Linked DNA regions of Homo sapiens: region 2 is linked to region 1. The links are contacts of gene promoters, found by promoter capture Hi-C in blood cells and fetal thymus (Javierre and others, 2016). All regions are on one chromosome and are shown on one strand. Each heading gives the region's core, a stretch centred on a gene start or on the middle of the fragment in contact. The rest is flanking DNA. Distances are from core to core; before and after follow the strand shown. Region 1 holds the start of ZC3H12B (zinc finger CCCH-type containing 12B). Region 2 holds the start of LOC128031833.

Region 1 (7,152 bases), core at 2,852-5,351:
TCTGTGCTCAGCTGGGAAAATTTTTAGTCCAATGATATAATAAAGATCATAGTTTAGCATATGGTAATTCTTTTAAAACTACGTATTTAAGGAAAATTATAACTTATAGATGCATCAGTGGTACTCAATGTAATACTGTCCTACCTCCAGACTCAGTCATTAGGTAAAAATATTGAGAATGACCCTATGTTACTTAACAGAGACTGACAGTTCTTTACCCTATTTTACATGCTGCCACCACTGAGGTTTAGCAATTTAACTAACATGTGTACCTGCCTTAAATCGCCACAGTACTTACAATTTGACATACGAGGTAATTTTAATTTTCTTGGCAGTTTCCCTCCTCTTTCCAAAGATCATCCCTTTGATACTGTCATAAGACCAGAAATGTACAATAGTTACTTAGCAAAAATGATTTACTCCAATGCCTTCTCCATATATTTTGCTATCTGTTAACTGGTTAATTTCCAGCAATAATCATAGCTATTTGCTGACTGTGTCCAGATAAGCCATTCTGTTCTCTAATAACTTGTTTATTTAATAGCTAATGTGCTAAGCAGAGGATGTTCAAAATAACAATTATATTTGTTGAGCCTAGAAACTATTAGCTACTGTGAATTAAAGTTAACTTTAATCAAAGAAGACTACTGCTGGCAGCAAAAGATACCAAAAAAAAGGTACAGAAGGTGTATAAAGCCTCAAAAATTTCAAGTTTGAGTATATTGTTCCTCAGAGTAAATCTGTGAATTCTTTATATTTGGAATTCTAATATGTGAATTTCTGTTAGGAGACATACCTCTCTACGGATGGAATAACTCCATACCTCGTTATTTTTCTGTGTAAATGTCAACTTACAATGGCTGACTAAAACCTAGGAGACAATTAGTCATCTGACTAATTTTCAATATAGCGGAAGGTTGTTAGAAATGTACCAAAATAAGCTTTGCAGAGGTTTGTAATTGCAGTTTAAACATTGATGTTGTCAATTATTAATATATACATTAATAACATGATATTAGAACTTTGACAGATATGAATTTGTGGGACTCTGACATACCCCTCCCTTTGTTTTCAGAAAATGGTAGCAATAGCAGTACTAAATGTAGTACTAAAAACTAAGTTATCATATACTAATGAATCAAAATGAATGTTGCTTATAAAATTTCCCTAATTTATTTTATCAAGAAATAGTCTTTGGAGCATATTAATAATCTAATGTACTATCAGACCAGTGTTGTATGAAACACTTAGAATATAACTGTCTCTTAATAGACAGTAAAAAAAAATGTACAGGTTACAAAAACATGTGAACTTAACACTCTACCTATATCTGCTTAGAAAACATTCTCACTTGCCTCAGGAAATAGGATGATTATTTTAAAGCCTGATTTCTATAGCATGTATATCTGTGAAATTATATTTAATTTGTTAATTTAGTATGTAGTTTATCATAGAAAATTATGCCCACTACAAAGAAGTTAATTGCCACTGACAGTCCTCTTCTCCTTTAGGTTTACCTAGGAGAAAATATGCAAAAGGATTAGAAAATCAAGTGCCTTAGCTCATGCTATGCTGAACTCTTCCACCTTCTAAGAAAGCTTATACTTCTATTAAGAGCCAAATCAAGTATGACTTTCTCTACAAAGCTTTCTCAGAAAAATCCAGCCTACAGTATTCTCCCTTTACTCTTAACTCTTTCAGTCCTTATTCAATATGACTCTGTTCCAATTGTTGACCATGGTGTCTCATATATGTATTTTCCTTTTTCCAATGGCTAAGCAATTTACCCATCGGTAATTTACCATTGGGTAAGCAATTTACCCAACTGGTAAATTGCTGTTTCTGTTCTATTCTCCACAATACCTGGTATAGTAGTAGGCATTCATTAGAAGCTAGAAAATAAAAACTTGTTGAAAGTCACTTTAAAAAAAAAAAAAAACTTCATTCCAGAGTTCACTGAACAAGTGCTTTGATAGCATTTGCAAAATAAGCCATCAATTTTATTTTATAATGTGATTACGACACCCTAGGTAAATGCTCTTAAGAGTATGCGGCATCTTCATAGTCATACTCACTTCAATGGAATACTAGATTGGATTCAAATTACTGCAGGGTTCTCTAAGTATGTGAAGGTGAAGAGCAAGTATTCATATGATACACTATTATTTCAAATAATTCAGACTTAAATTCATCAAAAGCTTTTCCAAAACAAAAAAAAAATTACCTTTGGAATCTAGCAACTAGAAGCATGTCAGCTTGCTAATGCACAAAACAAACAATACTCTCTGAGGTTATTTTGCAGTGGTACTAGAATTATATTGTGCTTTAATTTAAACTATACCCCCAAAGAACCTCAAACAACATGAAAGCTCCCAAAGCAAAGCATTTTACCCCAAACTAACAAAGTTTGCGGTCTTGACAGATTCACCCAATAAATTTAATCATAAATGGCATCTATATATCCTTTTTAAAAATCTTTAGCTCAAAAGCATTTACAAAAAAAAGAAAATTTAGCTTTTCCATTATTACGCTTCTCTCTCGCCACGTCTTATCAGATAAACGAAACCTGAAATGGCTTAAAAACCAATAGGGAGGGAAAAGAACCCATCTTTTGTCTGCTCACAGAACTATCTTACAATCAAAATTACTAATCTAAATTCAGTATGCTTTTGATAGGTGTCATCTGTGGACTGTAAGTTTTTTCAACCACTTACTTTTAAGAAAACAACCTCATTCATCAAAGATAATGTTGCTAATTTTCAAAAAAGCACCTCACAACTTTAGAACCTCATCTAATCACCTTGTCCAGAATATCACTTCCGGTGCCTCATGCCAATGTTTTCTGGAACCGACTATCTTCAACTGCAGGCTACCTCAGGAAGAACAGATATATCACAACCCATCCTCGCTTTTATTGGGGATATTTTAGGTTTCATCATCGTATTTATAATAAAAAAGAAGTATGCCATTCTGGATGAAAAGTAGTTTGTAAAACCAGTTTCCCCTATTATGAATCAGCCATTCTGCCTACTTCTCAAGTTTGATAGCACTTTAGAAGTCAAATGGAGTGTGTGTTTGTTTTATTATTTTTATTATTTAATATAAGTACTATCTTCCTAACGTACATGTCAGGAGTCAGAAGCCAGGCACAAGGCTTTCGGGAGGTCTTAGCACACGAGTAGCAACAACACTGAAAAGTAAGGGGCCACTCCAGCTATGTGTTCAAACCTTGAGGCATGGAGCGACAGCAGCCCGGGGAATGGGCTCCTGAGAAGCCCGCGGTCAGGCTGAGCCTCCTGAGAGAGCGAGAGCCAGAGCCAGAGCGAGGGGAAAGGGGCGAGCACGGCACTGGGAGAGTCTGTCCACGAATCAGGAATCAGGCTGCGTGACTGTACGTAGAATTATCAGCATCTATGGCATCTAAGAAGCAAAGCCAGGCCTTAAGCACCCACCCCGCATTCCTGGACGCCAGGGTTGAGACCAAAAAGTGGTGGCTATGAGAAGGAAAACTACCTCGAAGGGAATAGAGAGCCGCGAGCAGATGTGGGAGAGGCGTCAGAAGCTTCTGCAGGAGAAAGCAGCGATTCGCTCGCCTCCTGGGGCCACGGAGGCCGGAAAGGCGCACTAGAACCGAGCGAGTGCGGTGCCACTACTCACCCCTACTCTCCTATGGTCCCCGTCGTCGCCCTGCTCGACGCAGCCCCTGCAGGGGGGAGCCCCTCCCCCGCCCGCCGCAGGGGGTGGGCTCGGCGGGCGAGAGAAGGCGGCGGCGCAGGTGTCCAACAGCCGGGGCCAGAGAGGAGCTGGGTGCAAGGGAGACAGCTTGGTGCCTTGCGCTCCGTGGCGCCGCCAACTTCACCACCATCGACGTGGAGGGACGAGGGGAGGCGATGGGGGGAAGGCGCTCGCCCAGCGGCCCGGACCCTCCTGGGGTACTAGGCCTGAGCCTCTGGAGGGACCGCCGTTACCAGTCCCCTCAGCGATGCGACCCCCAGGCCTGATTCCAGTCCCTGGGCCCCCCTGGCCACAGAGCAGCGGCGGCTCCCTCTTGGGGCCGCGGTCGCAGCTGCATCCTCCTGCTCCTCCTCCTCTGGCGCCTCTGCCTACACACACAGCCCCGGCGCGGTTATCGCCGCGGCGCCCGGCCGCCGTTGCCTAGCAACTGTGCGCATGCGCCCCACCCCTGTCGGCGACTGCTGCCACCGCTGGCGCCGCTGTCGGAGCTCAGACCAGCAGGCCTACGACCTAGAAAGTGCTCAAAACCCCACTTCCTAAGGCCTAGAAGGAGCGACGTGAAGGTAAGCGTGGGTGAGGAGAGGTCCAGGATGCTCTGCAATTCGATAGGCCCGAGGACTTGGGATACGACCGTCTCCCAGCCCCTCGACAGGCACCTCTGCGGTTAAGAGTGACAGTCCCAACAACCTCACTACTTGTCTCACTGCCTTTTATTTGTCTTTTATTTGTTTTTATTTTATTTGCCTACGTATTTGTCTTGGCTCCTCCAATTCATCCTTCACAAGGGCTGCCAGGGTAATTTTCTAAATAACTTCTCTGACTATGTCACTCGTCTGCATAACTCAGGTGGTTAAGGGTCACCTCCCTTAATAGGGCCTAACAATTCTTGACTACTGCAACAGCATACTCTCTGGTTTCTTTGCCTTTAGACTTGTCTTTCTGCAATTTGTTCTCATACTTCTACCAGTGATCAAATGAAAATCTAATCTCACTTCCTTCTGGCTTAGAGAATGGGCTTTGAAATTACAGCCAAGTTTGAATTTCTGCTCCACCACCAAGTAGCTCTGTTTCCTTGAACTAGGAATTTTTTTTTTTTTTTTTTTTTGACAAAGTCTTACTCTGTCGCCCAGGCTGGAGTGCAGTGGCGCCATCTCAGCTAACTGCAATCTCTTACTTCTGGGTTCAAGAAATTCTCCTGCTTCAGCCTCCCAAGTAGCTGGGACTACAGGTGCAAGCCACCATGCCTGGCTAATTTTTGTATTTTTAGTAGAGACGGGGTTTCACCATGTTGGCCAGGCTGGTCTTGAACTCCTGACCTCAAGTGATCCGCCCGCCTCCGCCTCCCGAAGAGCTGGGATTACAGGCGTAAGCCACCGTGCCCGGCCTGAGCTAAGATTCTTAACCTGTCTAAATCTGTTTCCTTATCAGTAAAATGGGGATAATTATAATACCTATAGAGTAGTTATGAGGATTAAATGGAAAAGTGAATGTAAAGCACTTAACATACATAACTTACTGTGGCTCAGAGTAAGCGCTTAGTAAAAATTGGAGTTATTTTTCAATAGATTCATTATCTATAATAAAGGAGAAAATACAGATTCCCTAGCTTAACATTCAAAGTCCTCTAAGATCTTGCCTCTATTTTTCTAGCCCTAGCTCCTTCCACACCCCCTTAGGCACCCAGCCACAGACCAGTTTTTACCTTTTCTGAGACACATCTAGATCTATAAAGTGCTTAGACATATTTCCCAAAGGTTCACCTGGGTAAGAAATCTGCATAAACCCTCCAGTTAATTAACATGTAAATATCCAGTGATTCTTCTAAAACTACACTTTTTAATTTTAAAATATTGACACTGAGAATTGACATGTAGGCAATGGCTACGTACAAACTTGTGTGATATTCTAGGGGCTTATTTACTTGATCTTTTTGAAATTAGGTTTAGAGGTTCTGTATTAAACTTAATACAATGTATAAACATATTTACAAAATGTGCCCTGCTGGATGTTTATTTAATAAAATATTTAAACATTTTAGAAAGTGTAAAAATAGCTATGCCATGTGTAAGAACTTTAAGAAGCCCTATAATAAGTGCCAGTGAAACATTAGTGGAGGGCCAGGCATGGTGGCTCACCCCTGTAATCCCAACACTTTGGGAGGCCGAGGTGGGCAGATCACCTGACGTCAGGAGTTCAAGACCAGCCTGGCCAACATGGCAAAATCCCTCCTCTACTAAAAATACAAAAATTAGCCAGGCGTGGTGGCACTTGCCTGTAATCCCAGCTACTTGGGAGGCGGGGGCAGTAGAATCACTTGAACCTAGGAGGTGGAGGTTGCAGTGAGCCGAGATGGCACCATTGCACTCCATCTAGGCGACACAACAAGACTCCGTCCCCCAAAAAAAAGAAAGAAGGAAGGAAGGAAGGAAGGAAGGAAGGAAGGAAGGAAGGAAGGAAAGAAAGAAGAAACATTAGAGGAGAGCTCAAATGGACTGTCAAACTAAAATGAAACTTTATACAGACCAGCCAAAAAGTACTGAAGAAAGAGAAGAACAATTGGAAAGGCGAAAAAGAGTGAATCACTCTAGAACTAATTAAGTAGAAGTATCAGATTGGAGATCATCAACAAGCTGGAACCAATGTGGAAGACCATAACATAGGGAATATATATTACAATTATGAATGTGGAAATGAGCTTGGATAGAGTTCTCACACAGCTCATACCTTTCCTTCCGTATGGAACAGACATGCCTTTCAGGTTCTAAGGAAAACAATTCCCTAGTGTTCAGCCTTTTCTAATGACCATCAGTAACTCACAGGGACAGACTTTTTACAAAATTTGCTTATATCTTCTAAAACCTGTATTTTACCACATAAAACCTATATTCTCTGTTCACTTATTGAACTAATCACATTCTATCACACATTTTTTTATCAGTGTATAGAGAAATACATATATAAAATGCTGCTAGTCATCTTTAATTCTTCTGTGTTCCTTTCTATATAAAGAACTGTGCCACTGCTGTACTTAAACTCCTTCAATATCTTTCCTGGGGTTTCAAGATAAAATCTGAGCTCCTTTGCCCACATCAGTGCATCTGCCTTTACTACGATAGAAAGGTAAAAACTCCTACAACAAACAGACCTCTCTATATCAATATGGAAAAAAAAGAAAGCTGATTTATTATTGAGTAAGCACAACAGAGTACATGCATATAAGTAGCCTTCAAGAGACTGCAAATTCAAAATAAAATTCTATACAACTTATATATTGCAACAGTCCACTTGAGAATTGAGGCAGCTATTTGTTTAGTTAATTGAATTCTTCCAACAGAATAATAAAACTTTTCTTACCTCCCTAAAGATACCTCTAGTCTTCCTGAAAGACAAATGGTTACACCTTGAGATGGGCTCCTA
Region 2 (7,152 bases), core at 1-2,500, 1.3 Mb after region 1:
TCTGATTGGCGGTCGCGGCTAGCACGCCAGCGCAAGTCCCGCCCCTGGGCAGCGAACGTGCTACTGCGGCATCTGTTATTGGTCGGCGGGTATGTCAGTGGCTCTGGCCGCGCCTCACGCAAGCGCCCGCAGTCGCTCGGTGAATAAAAAGGCAGCCTATGGGCTGAGCGGGGGATGGGGAGAGAAGAGGGATAGGGCCAGCAAGGCAGGGATCGAACGAGTGTCTGGCAGCCGGGAGCCCAGCGAAGAGAGCGAGCAAGCTTAGGAAAACGAGCGAAGTAAAGGGAGTAGGGGAGACTGAGACTGACCGGTAGCCAGGCAGGCGGACGGACGCACGCCCGGACAGACTGAGCAGGCGCCGGAGAACCACTCACAGGTTCCCCCCGCCTTTCCCTTTGAAAGCTAGGATTTTGCCTTTCCCGTGGCGCCCGAGAGAGAATGCTGGACTCTGCCGACTTCAGCGCAAGCTAAGATTTCTCAGCTAGGGACAAACGATCAGCCCAATCCTGAGAAGGGGGGAACCAAGCACCCCGTCCCCATCCCCCTCCCCTCCCCCGACTAAACTCGGGCGCCAAACCCAGCCCTTCTCTAACCACCCTACTTCCTCCTCTCCTTTCTAGCATGGTGGCTGTATGGACAGTCTGACAGAACAGAGACTGACATCTCCCAATCTGCCGGCCCCCCACCTGGAACACTACAGTGTTCTGCATTGCACCATGACCCTGGATGTGCAAACTGTAGTCGTTTTTGCCGTGATTGTAGTCCTCCTGCTTGTCAATGTCATACTCATGTTTTTCCTGGGAACGCGCTGAATGGAGTCCAGCCACCTGAGCTGTCGCGAACTCTCGCTTTGATTTCATCCCGAGAGCCACCGAGAAAAAAAAAAAATCACAGACAGAGACAGGGAAAGAGAGAGAAAGAACAAGCTTTCTTACTCAGGGGGGAAAACGTTTTGAGCTTCAACATGGCCTCGCTGTGATATGTATGACGTTGGTATATTATCTCTCCCTAAATCTTTTGTCGTGTCTTGTCTTTTAAGAATGCCTGCGCGTATAGTTGCCTATTGCTTGAGTGAAATTGTTGATGAAGAAATGCTTTCTATTTAAGTGTGCATGCGTGTGTGCATTTTTAATCTATGTGGCGTTCATGGAGCAAGCTCTGCGTCCTTAAACAGTGGCTTTGCTGTCTGTGGTGTCTTAACTCATTTCCTTGAAGACTACCTTTAAACTCCATCAGGGAATTTTAGTCAAAATTTCTCTCTTGCCATCAGGAGTGCATTTGGGTTTGTTTGAGGGGAAAAGGGTTTGTGGAAGAGCATGATGAATATTTGACATCATAGGAAAGACAGTCTTTGCAGTGGATATTTAGAGGGAAAATAATCGATGCAAGGAATGGATTTAGGGAAAATGCTTCTTTAGTGTCTAAGGAGAAGCAAGAATTTGGGAAGTGACACGGGTGTGTTGTGCTGGCAGTTGGTGACTGTGTCCTTTGAATCTCAATTTGCTCTCCAGGGTTCACAATTTTCAATTTTGAAAGAAGCCACATTTAAAACACTTCTTGAACCTTAAAGCTTTAAGATATTTAAAATGTCAATTTCCTTGGAATCATGAAATAGTATGTGAAAGCATTCTCTGATTTTTTGAACTGGCAAGAGAGGACTTTGACAGGAGCTATTTGGGCTCCCTTTCCCAAAGATTGTACCCCTGGATTTGAGTTTGGGGATTTTGTTTGTCTCATCAAAAAAAAAAAAAAACCCCACAAGAAAGAAAAAACAGCTCTTTATCCACCTTGGGAATAATAGTATTTGGATATGGCTCCTTTGGGATAATCTCGTTTGCAATGATGTTCTTGAACTACATTTTAAATGTAACTTGATAAGGCTGATGAGAAAGTGGTGATGCTATTGTTTGCTCCCGTTTGTTACTTTAAGATCAGAGGTCTCTGTAATTGAAACATTCCCATAACAAACTGAAAGTCTGTAATGTGCTAAATTAAGAGTTATCAAATTTTGGTGCTAAATTTGACCACCAAAACCCAAAAACGTCTAGAAGGAAAGGGATGAGAGCATGGAAAACATGAGCTGGAAGCAACATTCCAGTTTGAGATATGACTGCTTGTCTGTATCAGATGGTGGTGGTGGTTTCTGTTGTTATTGCTATTGCTATTATTTTTATATTTCTGTTTCCTCTGAGAAAGCTCTTGGCAGAGCCAGGAAAAAAAATGTCTCATGCCAGTCTGTATAATACTTGTTTTTTTGCGTTTTGATTTTCTTTCTCCCCTGTTAATGTAGGCAGGCTTTCCCCATTCCATTGCTTACCTGGCTTGAAATAATGCCATTTATGGCTCATGTATTATAGCAGTGAATCAGGACACATACACATCTACACACATGCTCCCCCTCCACCCATGTGGGTGGCTGTTCATGTCTGATGTGCAAATCTGCTGGCATTATGCTGTCAAGTTCCATGTCCGGTTGTTCAGTCTCTTTGGAAATGATTATGAAAGGAGAGGGGCTGTGAAGGGGGCCTTTGAAATTGTCTTGGCCACAGGACCCAGAGAGTATTATTTAATGGCGTCAGAGGGTGTTTTGGGCCTCAAAGCATGCTATCCTTGACTTGGTGTGGGTGAGAAGCTGAGGTTTTTGTGAGATTAGTACCATGGTGTAAACATGATCTGGGAGGTTTGCTGGCATTGGTTCTTATTAATTACTCTTTGGTCCGTTTGTGGAGACCCCCTGGATGGAACTGAGAACCTATTTCTTTGCAAAGATAATTTAGTGAGTTTTTTTCCCCCCTTAGCTTCATTGTATTATTTAAAGTAAGCTTATATCTTTTCTGGGCACTTTGTTTTGATACAGTGTTGGAGAGTGGGGAATGGCTCTATGCTGGGCAGCTGCAGACCTGTTTTTTTGTTTTGTTTTGTTTTGTTTTTTGTTTTTTCCATTCAGCAGCTGTTTGACCTTGGACAATTTTTTTCCTCCTCGGTGGGTTTGGGATTCCCAGTAACATTGGCATTTTTTGATGGCTCCACTAGGTGACTTCCAAGTTCTTGCATTTTATGATTTTATGACCCCTAGACACTTGAAGTTGTGGGGGGTGGGGGGGATGAGCTGGAAAGACAAGTGAAAAGGAAAAGAAAATGTTAATCAAAGGGTGATGGGAGGAGGGGAAGGATATCTGGTACTACAGCCTGGATAACAAGTTTAAGCGAAGGGGTTTTTTTTGCCTAGTTATTTGGGAAGGAAACTGGGACAGCAATAAGGGAATGCTTTTTGACTTTTTTTCCCCCAAGGGGAGAAGGGGTCTCTGAGACTAGTCTTTGATCTAGGTTTATGACTTAAATAGTGTCACGAAATGCCTTCTCCTCTGTGAGCCTGACAGACCTTTGGCAGAAAGCCTCTGGGAATGTATGTGTGTGTGTAGGGTGTGTGGCAGTATGTTCATGGGGGTGTGTGGGGGGGAGCACACTCCTGAGTGTGGATGCGGGGTGTGGTGGTAGGAATGAAGAAAGACAGTATTGAGTTCCACAGTTCTGAATAGCCTCCTTGTGCTAGGACCTATAAGGATTTCACAAATGCTGGGATGGATGGGTATCACCCATGCCATTCCTCTTTTCACCACCTAAAACCCCTCAGGCTAAGGAGGTGTCTTGAATGAGCCCTTCCATTAGTAATTTAGCTGTTGAAATGGGTTAGCGCTTTTAAAATTGTCTCCAGGCAAATAAAGGGATGTTGCTAGCCAGATGGCAGGCCACCATCTAGCAACCAGAAGGGAATTTGAGAGTAGAGAACAAAAGGTAGCAGTGTGACTTTTTACTTGTGTGAATCCTAAAGGTTTGGCATTTCTGCTTCAGACTTGTGAGGATATTTTTCTCTAGCAAAAAGAGAAAAGAGTGGGAGAAAATGAGAAATGCAGCCCAGAGAAGCGGAACCCTATGCATTTTGACTTGTCTTCTTTTTTCCTTCCTCCTCTGCCTTCTCTCTTAATCTTTCTCCTTCTTCCTTTCTTCCCACCCCTGACACCACCTCCTCCTCCCACCTCCCCACTGTAAATGGGTGAGAAGTAAAAAAGAGAAGAGGACTTTTCCTCTCTGATTTGTCCCAACTTTTCCCAATAAAGCTCCTCCATTCCCTTCCCTCCTCTCTGGCCCCTTTGAGTAGAGGATAAGCTTTTGCCATGTAGGAGGGGCAAAATCCCAGCTTAGGGATTTTCGCTCCTGGATCCCCATCAAAGAATTAAAGAAAATGCCCTCTACTGGTATCCTAGCAACCCCTGTATCACTGAGCACCCACTGAGCTCCAGAGCCCACCCTTTAAAGGCCCAGGCACCAATAACTCTAGAAAAAGGGGACTAGAGCCTAGTGGGACTTGGAGAGATGCTTTTGGGGAGGGAACAAAGAAAGAACAGAATCCCAATTTCCTGCAAATGCCTCGGAAACATGTCCACAGCAGACATGTAGAGCCTAGCCTCGTCCAGCTATGAGATTATTTATTAGAAAACTCCTGGTTTCAAATTCCTTTCTAGTCAGTCCCATCTCCTTAAGATTAACTGTGCCATTTTACTGCCTAGCTTTAGTGCCAGAAGCTCTGCCGGTCCTGAAAAAACAATTTTTTTCACCCTAACTTTTGGCTGCATCAGGGAGGGGGTGAAGTGATATCTTGGTGGGAACAAACTGAACAGCATTCTTCTTCCATTGAGACAGCCTCCATCTGTCAGAACCTGCAGTGTGCTTGTGCAGTGTGCCCCAATTTTGTCTGTGGCTTGGGGAATCCTGATCAGCCTAGCTTTATAGAATTTGGGAATTTTTCTTTCTGTGGTTTTGGTGTAGTAGTTTCTGACGGGGGAGGCTGGACAAGTTGAAAGAGCAAGTTTGATAATGGAGCTGGTAAACAGGGCTTGGACCCTGGCTCAGAGACTCTCACCCACCGGTGTGTGTGTGATTCAGCTACTAGGGAGCTGAAAGATCCCAAAAAGGCTGTAGGTGAGGTGCTCTTCTGCCCTTGAGGTAAGGCCCAGATTGAGAGCAACCAGAGGGCACAGTCTGGTGGTTTGAAGGATGGTAACAAAGCATGTCTTCCTCTTTAGCCTTTGTCTGCCATCTCAGTTTCTGGTCCCTTGACCTGCAGAGTGCTTGCTCTGGGCAGGGATATAAGAATTGAGCCTTTTCTCCCAAAATAACTGCCTCCTCAGAAGACCTCCTACAAGGCATCTGGATCTTGCTCCAGTGGCTTTGCCCCAAGAAATGGGATGGAGGAGGGGAATCTTGGACTCTCTAGCTCTTATTTCCAGCTCTGCAACTTGTTCTAGGCCAACTGAGTCTCTGGCTTTCCAAGAATCCTTGATGAAGGTTTAGCTTCTCCAGTATCTGCTCAGAGTGTCTCCTTCTGTCTTAGGTGGATCTAGCTCCATAGAGTATTTAGTTTATTGTACTTTGCTCTAGCACGAAAGTACAAAGAGGAAAAACTAGAAGGGGAAGAACATAGAGGGGAGAGAAGGCTCAGGAAGCAGTCCAGTAATGACAATACTAATAACTCCTTATCAGTGCACGGGCCTATAGCGTTTATGAAGGAATTTCACATCCTTTCTAACTTGAGCATCACATCAGCCTTGTGAAGTGGGTAGAGATGATTGTAATTCCCAGTGTTACAGATGAGGAAAGTAAAGGTCAGCAAGATTGTTGGGATGGGAGTGGGTCTGCCTTTCAAATAGAGAGGAGAGTCAGAGTTGGTCATTCCTAACTAGTGTGATGTTGAATGTAGGGAGGGAGGGCCTGACGTGGTGGCTCACGCCTGTAATCCCAGCACTTTGGGAGGCTGAGGCCGGTGGATCACCTGAGGTCAGGATTTCGAGACCAGCCTGGCCAACATGGTGAAACCCTGTCTCTACTAAAAATACAAAAATTAGCCGGGCGTGGTGGCACACGCCTGTAGTCCAGCTACTTGGGAGGCTGAGGCAGGAGAGTCACTTGAACCCAGGAGGCGGAGGATGCAGTGAGCCGAGATCATGCCACTGCACTCCAGCCTGGGTGACAGAGCGAGAGTCCGTCCCAAAAAAAAAGAAAGAAAAGGAAACAAAAGAAAGAAAGGAGATTTGGGAGTCATCCCTGAAGTCATACTAGCTTCCTCAGCTACTCACATTTTTAATAACTTTCATTTGTATAGCACTTTTGCTCAGAATTTTCATTCTATAAAATGCCTTTTTGTCTTGAATATGCATCAAAGAGTTCTGTTTAGTTTTATGAAAACTCACTATTTGGGATCTTCAAGGTGAGAGGCCAGTGTGAATTGCTGAAGCCTAAAATACAGAATGTTTTCAAGGAACTGTAGTTTTAATACAATTGTTCTTCTCTTTGAAGCACACTTATTTTTCTATATTTCTTTAAAAATCTGCTGCCTAGAACTGTTCATGCTACTCTAGGTGCCACCTGACTGAGATCAAGTGCAAAAGAACTTTGTTTTGTCTGTGAAATGTCTAATAATGCAGCCTTCTACTGATTCTCAACCCTCACTGAACATTCAGATCACTTGGGAAGCTTTTTTTTAAATACCCATGCCAGGTCCCCTATCTGAAAGATTCTGATTTAATTTTCATGGGCTAGATCCCAGGGAGCTTTATTTATTTATTTTTTTAATTTAAAGTTCCCTAAGGTGATTCAAATGTGCAGCCAGGGTTAAGAGTTAGCCTTTTGAGCATGTAGGTCCAAACCATTTACTGTCTAGTCCAGTCCTCTACTCTCTTGTGAAGTTGGCCACTTCAGGGTTTTTTGAACCAAACTTGCTACATTTTATCTTGACATGTTGGTCCATTATTCTAGCTTTCTGTGGATTTTAAAATTTTTTCTTCATGCTGTGCTACAAATTAGCAGTCCCTTCTAGCACTGCATCAGTTAAATTCTATTTGTTTGGTTGGACTATTGTTCTAGCCTTTGGGAGGTTTTTATTTTTTTTCTTCATGTCACACAACAGGTTAGCAGCCTCTTCTAGTGTTGCATTATTTGAACACCAAATAAATGGCATTCGAGTCGTTGATTCAAAGAAATGTTTACTATGATATGATTAATGCTAGCTCTTCTGTCACCTCACCAGAGCCCCTCTTGGAGTTGGGACTTGTTAATTTTTGTATGTATCTGGTCAACCAGTGCAGACTGCACCTG

Evidence for each region. Contacts are between HindIII fragments. The CHiCAGO score rates a contact against its expected background, and 5 or more counts as called.
Region 2: a contact is called between a fragment that was not itself captured here and the fragment with the promoter of ZC3H12B in region 1, in 1 of 17 cell types (fetal thymus). The highest score is 8.0, in fetal thymus.

Annotation. Positions count from the first base shown.
Region 1 is chrX:65,031,775-65,038,926 of GRCh38, reverse strand. ZC3H12B (zinc finger CCCH-type containing 12B) reads right to left here and starts at 4,101. Exons shown (of 10, transcript NM_001010888.4): 1 at 3,658-4,101. It also overlaps a transcript of ZC4H2 not described here. RefSeq lists an enhancer at 3,474-3,533 and silencers at 3,634-3,863, 3,924-4,073. The HindIII fragment of the contact is 4,649 bases long and covers 3,565-7,152 here.
Region 2 is chrX:63,748,145-63,755,296 of GRCh38, reverse strand. The region is part of intron 1 of ARHGEF9 (Cdc42 guanine nucleotide exchange factor 9); the gene reads left to right. It overlaps LOC128031833, which reads left to right and starts at 633. Exons shown (of 1, transcript NM_001414729.1): 1 at 633-812. The coding sequence starts at 633. The coding sequence ends at 812. RefSeq lists a silencer at 1-134 and an enhancer at 1-288. The HindIII fragment of the contact is 644 bases long and covers 929-1,572 here.